Linked DNA regions of Homo sapiens: region 2 is linked to region 1. The links are contacts of gene promoters, found by promoter capture Hi-C in blood cells and fetal thymus (Javierre and others, 2016). All regions are on one chromosome and are shown on one strand. Each heading gives the region's core, a stretch centred on a gene start or on the middle of the fragment in contact. The rest is flanking DNA. Distances are from core to core; before and after follow the strand shown.

Region 1 (3,834 bases), core at 1-2,500:
CACCTTCTGTGTTGAAAGTAAACCCCCTTGTAGAGAGCCTGAGACACCCACATCCTCAGTGGACTTCTGCTTATGCCTCAGGATCTGACCGGGTCAGAGTCCCCGAGAGCTCCCAGGCTAGGGGCCCAGAGGAAGGGGTGCTGGAGCCCCTTGGGGCCGATGACTTTCAGGCCTGAGCTCCTCTGCCATTCACCCTGCCCCAGCCAGCACTGCCAGAGGCCTGTGCAGGAGGGAGGGAAACGCATGACTCCGCCCGAAACCAGGTCACCCTCCCGTGGCAGCCCCACCAGCCCAAGGGCCGAGACTGAAGCTTCCGCCACAGCCCTCCCCTCCCCACTCCTGGCGGAGGCCTGGGAAGTCGAACTGCCCTCCCCTCCGCAGCGCTCCAAGCCCCCCACCACCCAGGCGGGAAACTGCAAAGTTCAGACGGGGCGGGGGTGGCGGTGGCTTCATCGTTTGCATTGATGAGTGCGTCGCCTGCGGCCACAGCGGTGCCACGAACTCCATCCCCTCGGCGGTCGCCGCCCGCGATCCCCGCGAGCCGCTCCCCGAGGTCCCGCCTCCCGTCCCACCATCCCGGGCCCTGACTCCCCGGGGCGCCGACGCGAGGGGACCCGGCCTCCGTCTCCACCTCCATCCCTGCATGTGCCAGAAACCCCCGGGCGGACTCCCGCGCCTGCCGGTCAGTCCCTCTGAATCTTCTCCCGCGGGGGCTCGGGAGAAAGAGCTGCTCCGAGCCCCCAAAGTCTTCCTGAGTTCCTGCGCCCGTCGGGAGGGGCCGCCCTCCGGGAGCTCCTCTCCACACCCCGAGGCCTCCCCACCACGCCTCAGCCCGCGCTTCTCCTTGGAGCGTCGGAAGCCTCGGGTGTTCGAGGCCGCCTCCTCCAAGAAGCCTTCCAGACTTCCCCGTCTGCGCTTCAGTGCTAGTTCCCTCCGCCGTCCTCACTCGACCCCGAGCCCCTGCCTCCCCCGTCTCACTGCCCCGGAGCCGCAGGCTCAGGCACATTTCCAGCCCCGGGACCTGCTCAGCCGGGCCGCGGCGCCCCGGGACCCCCGCCCGCCTTTGGCTCTCACAGCGGGGCCTCACCGGTGCGCAGAGCCAGGAGCAGCCACAGAGCCCCGCTCGGACCCCGCATGGCGCCGTCGGGGCTGGCTGGGGCCGGGCTGGGGCTGGGTCCGGGTCCGAGGAGGTCCGCAGCAGCCGGGCTTCCTCCCTGCTCCCCCTCGCGCTGGCCCGAGCTCCTTAAGTGCGGCCGCGAGTTCCCGGGCGGAATCCACGCCCCTGGGGCGCAGGTCACCTCCCGCCGACCCCGGACCCCGCCCCTGGGCGGCCCCGGCGCGCCCCCTGCTGGAGGCCTCCCGCTCGGGCCCGGGCGCCGCTGCTCGGGGCTCTCGCCTCAGCCTCCTACCCCGCGTTCCAGGGTATCCTCCCCTCCTCGCGCCCTAGAAAGACTCCAGATACCGTGTCTAACTGGAGAGAGAAAAGCTCAGACGTGGAAGGAAGGAGAGGTCAGAATCCCAGAGTCGGGGCTGGAGGGCAGCTGGAGGATGATCTCATTCACGCAGCAGCTCCCTCCCAGCACAGCTGCACAGAGGATCTGGGATACGGGGGAGCCCAGGCCGAGCGCCCTGGCGAGGGGGGAGCCGGGCAGGGGCATCTCGGCCACAGCTGCACAGAGGATCTGGGATACGGGGGAGCCCAGGCCGAGCGCCCTGGCGAGGGGGGAGCCGGGCAGGGGCATCTCGGCCACAGCTGCACAGAGGATCTGGGATACGGGGGAGCCCAGGCCGAGCGCCCTGGCGAGGGGGGAGCCGGGCAGGGGCATCTCGGCCACAGCTGCACAGAGGATCTGGGATACGGGGGAGCCCAGGCCGAGCGCCCTGGCGAGGGGGGAGCCGGGCAGGGGCATCTCGGCCTAGCCGACTGCCTCTCCTCGGGCCTAGAGACGGGAGGTGACTTGCCCGAGTCAGGCATCCAGTCAGTGGCAGAGCCAGCTGATTGGAAGGTGAGAAGAGGACCAGAGAGGAATTGGAGGAAGCGGAAAAGGAGAAACAGGCGGAGAAGGGGAGGAAGAGAGTGAAGAAGGTGAGGGAGGAAAGGGTGGGTTGACCGTATTTCTAGGACAGTGGTTCTCAGTGTGGTCCCTAGGCCAGCAACGTGAGCATCACCCTGGAACTTGCTGGAAATGCAAGTGCTCAGGCCCCACCTCCGACCCACTGGATCGACAGCTCTGGGGGCGGGGCCCACAATCTGTTTTTATTTCGGGGCACAGCAAATGTTGAGAACCACTGTCGCAGGCGGGCAAAAGCGGCACTCCCCATGTGGTTGGGGATGCGGGGAATGAACTGAAGACATTGTTAGTCACCTGCCTCCATTTAGGCCTCACCTTTATGTCATCAGCCCCTCTGAGACTCAGAAATGATGTCTCTCTCTGACATGGGTAAGTACAACAGTGAGAGAGAAGACATCCCTCTGAGTTTGTCTGTCCTTGAGCTTGCTCTGCGCCCTGGGGAAGGAAGGCCTCCCTCCTATGGGGCCATGAAGCTACTGCTTATCACACACTGGATCAGGGGAAGGAACATGGGCTGGGCTTCAGGAGACTCGAGCTCTACTTTTTAAAAACCAGCGACTTACAGACCCTGGGCGAGTTCGTCGCCCTCTCTGGGCTTGTTCCCCACATGTAAAAGGTAGGTCATGATGGCCGTGACGTGCCATACTTTCCGTCTCCTGTCTGCTCTGGAGGACTTGTGCTGTGGAAGCTGTTTCTCCATCCCCCCAGATGGATCCCTTCTTCCTAGTTTGCACAAAGGTGCCGAATGGACTAGCAGGCAGCCTTGCTAGAGGGGCTGATGGCTTGTCCTAAGAAGATGGAATAAATAGAAGAGTCCTTAACAAGCCTCGTTCTCCTGACCACGAGGATAGAAAGGCTCAGTTGGCACACTCCAGGAGCCACCAGATGACTGGCAGGATCTGTTTGATGACTAAGTCCTTCCTTTGGCAAAACTCCACGTGACGCTGATAGGGAGTGAGAACAACCATAACCTAAGAGGTTTGCTGGGCTCTTTCACAATGAAGTTCTTCCCTTATCTCTTGGGTGTCATTCAGCTGTGACTCATCAGTGAACTTGCTGCCTCTGGGTTCTCAGGGATTCTACATCGGGCCCGTTGGCCCAGGGTTGGCATGAACGCGCATCACCTTTGTGGAATGGGGAAGTCTGCCTCAGCTTGAGCCAGGATTCTGCCATTTCTGGGGTCCGGACATACTTGGGTGTGCCAGAGAAATGGGTGGGATGTAATGAGAGAGTAATAAGCCAGTAGTTTAACCCACAAACAGCCTTCTGGAGGAGCAGAAGCTGAGGTTAGTTTGGTCCCCATTCTAGACTCATATTGAGATTAGAGGGAGAGCATACAGACTAAAGGAACTGGTTTCACTGACACTTCGATCAGATTCTGGGGCCTAAGCAGCTCTGCCTGAGTCTCCCTGACCCTACCCCATAATATGAAATAAAAAGAGCTCTTCTCCACTCTTGCCAAAGACACAGCTCTGGCTCTCCAAGGATTCAGAGTGCCCAGAAGCATTGAGCTTGCTTGTCAGGGAATCGAGGAACAGTACATCCCATGGAGGGAATACACTACAGGCAGCCTCAGAAAGTGGGGGCCTTTGACAGGAGACTGAGAAGGTCCATCAGCAGGTAGTGGCTAATGAGCCAGCAAAGGGTGAAATCCTTTACCCAAAACGAAGTAAAATATTGTACTTAGGAAAAAATATTTTTCAACAAATCATAATTTCTGTCTGTCTATTTCTATGGCCCGCAATGTCTTTAAGAACAAGCC
Region 2 (2,729 bases), core at 1-2,500, 510 kb before region 1:
TCCAGACACATTCTTCTAAAACACAATTCCGATTCTGTGACTCAACTGATTACAAATGGTTTATGTCATCCTGGCTTGCCCAGTGATATACTCAGAGGCAAACTGGATCTCCTCAGCAGGAAAGTCAAGGGCCTTCACCCTTTGCTCCTGTCTTCCACCAGTCCCCTCACCCATCCTAGTTACCAATTACACGAGACATCTAGTTGCTGCTTGAATACATTATGTGGTTCCAAGCTTACATATGGCTTATATGCACTGTTTCCTCAGCCTAGAATGCCTTCCCATATTTTTCTCCCTCATAAGCTCCTACTTGCACTTTAAGATCCAGCTTAAATGACCCTATATGAAGAGTTCCTTTTTCTAGTGTCAAAGGCAAAATTGGTTGATCCTCCCTTCATGTTCGCATAGACCTTTAGGAACATCACCATTGTAAGGTCAGTCACATTAAATTGTAAATGTTTTTCAAACTTTTCTCTTTCCTACAGGCTGTGAGCTCCTTGAGGGCAGAAACCACATTTTACTTATTTTTGTAAATCTAGGATTTAGCATATGCATACATTCAATGGAGTTACAGCACCTGGGAGCAGACTTTTCTTTATTGTTAATTTACATAGGTTTGGGCCTGGAAGACTTAAACCACTGTAATAGAGACGGAATTCTTTTTTTGGACGGAGTCTTGCTCTGTTGCCAGGCTGGAGTGCAGTGGCACGATCTCGGCTCACTGCAACCTCCACCTCCCGGGTTCAAGTGATTCTCCTGCCTCAGCCTCCCAAGTAGCTGGGACTACAGGCGCCCGCCACCATGCCTGGGTAATTTTTGTATTTTTAGTAGAGGCAGGGTTTCACCATGTTCGCCAGGCTGGTCTCAATCTCTTGACCCTGTGATCCGCCCACCTCGGCCTCCCAGTGTGCTGGGATTACAGGTGTGAGCCACCGCACCGGCCACAGAGACAGAATTCTAATGAGCATGTCTGCAGTTCTTTATTTCTATTCTTCATTCTTCTCTTACCCATCTTCCCAGAATAGCAGACCCATGCTTGCTCCCTCCCTATAGCCCTCAGCAACCTTTTCATTGCCTCCTTCAAGGATATCAGGGTTGTGGTTTCATTGTTCATCTTCTGAAGGCAAAAGGAAAGAAAACAAAAACAAAGCAAAACAAAAAAAGCAATAAATGTTTGAATCCAGAATTTTCTGCGGTCTTCCTCTCAGCAACAGGCAGCAGTAGCAGGAGCGCTCAGTCTACATTCTGCCTGAAAGGTCACTCAGTACAAGAAGCTTTTAATAGCCTGCAGATCCAAATATAGTTTCAAAGAACTTATCTCGTGGACACAGGTGTCCTGGAATGCACTATAACATTTGCCTTTGAAAACTGAACCATAGTACATTAACATACAGCAACAACCATGTATAATTAATGACTGTGTACATTATGGTAAATGTATATACAGATACATTAACGTAACGTATAGGATTAAGTTTGATGGAAATATTACTGTCATATTTTAACTGCTTCATTATTCAATTACAACCTAAATTAGGTTTGAAGAGTGCCCCAGATCTTTTATGATGATGATATCAAAGCAAAAAATCTAACTATCATTAGAAACTACTAAATACTTGTTATGGCTGGGTATGGTGGCTCACTCCTGTAATCCCAGCACTTGGGGAAGCCAAGGTGGGAGGATTGCTTGAGCCCAGGAATTCAAGACCAGCCTGGGCCACAGAGCGAGACTGTCTCCACAAAAAATACAAAAATTAGCCAGGAGTGGTGGTGCATGCCTGTAGTCCCAGCTACTCAAGAGGCTGAAGTGGGAGGACTGCTTGAGCCCAGGAGTTCGAAGCTGCAGTGAGCTATGATCATGCCACTGCACTCCAGCCCGGGCAAGAGGATAGGATATATATATATATATATATATATATATATATATATATATATAATTATATATAAAATTATACATATAATTATATATAATATATAATTTATATCGTATATAAAATATATATATAATTTTATATAATTATATATATATTAGATTAGGAATTGAATATAAATGTGGAAATAAAATAGGACTGCTGTTTTCATGAGATTTAAAATCTAGTTGGGAAGAAAGAATATATCCTTAAATAGAAAATGTATATGGGATGTGTGCTAAGTAGATAGAGACCATAAAAATAATAGAAGGTGAGAGACTAAGTCACTGAAATCTTGGGTCCTTGGGGAGATATTCACCCTGAAGGTGGTACTTGGCTTGGCCTTAAAGGTCAAGGTCTTTGATTATCAGAGAAGAGTGTTAAGGGTGTTACGAACTGGAGAAATTGTGTGAGCAAAATCACAGAGGTGGCAAAGTAAATGATGTGTTCAGGAAACAATGAGTAGGTATGTTTTGAGCAAAAGATTCATATAAGAAAAAGAAAATAACCACACCATTTAAACTGGTAAGAGCCATGTCACGTATTTGTTCTTTCACTGAATACTTTATTCACTTATTCAATATTTACTGAGCATCATAGATATTAATTGAATGTATAAAACCTACGAATGGATGAGCAGCACTATTCCAGGCACTGGTAATATAGTGATAAGTAAGGCGAAATCCTTGTCCTCAAGGAACATACTAGCAGGGAGACAGCACATAAGGCTTATAAGAGAGGGGATGCTTCTAGCTAGCTTGGTAAGGAGTTTGGACAGATGTGAGCTGTTGGTTCTAGAAGATTAATCTAGGCTCAGGT

What was found. The method cuts DNA at HindIII sites, captures the fragments that hold promoters and counts their contacts. A CHiCAGO score of 5 or more calls a contact.
Region 2: a contact is called between the fragment with the promoter of SMCO1 here and the fragment with the promoter of MELTF in region 1, in 9 of 17 cell types (total B cells, monocytes, fetal thymus and 6 more). The highest score is 12.2, in total B cells.

The regions. Positions count from the first base shown.
Region 1 is chr3:197,028,567-197,032,400 of GRCh38, forward strand. It overlaps MELTF (melanotransferrin), which reads right to left and starts at 1,251. Exons shown (of 16, transcript NM_005929.6): 1 at 1,088-1,251. The coding sequence starts at 1,136. RefSeq lists silencers at 514-693, 884-933, 984-1,473 and enhancers at 1,007-1,643, 1,644-2,280, 2,668-3,834, 2,972-3,266. The HindIII fragment of the contact is 6,273 bases long and covers 309-3,834 here.
Region 2 is chr3:196,514,096-196,516,824 of GRCh38, forward strand. It overlaps SMCO1 (single-pass membrane protein with coiled-coil domains 1), which reads right to left and starts at 1,251. Exons shown (of 3, transcript NM_001077657.3): 1 at 1,065-1,251. The coding sequence starts at 1,114. The HindIII fragment of the contact is 1,040 bases long and covers 233-1,272 here.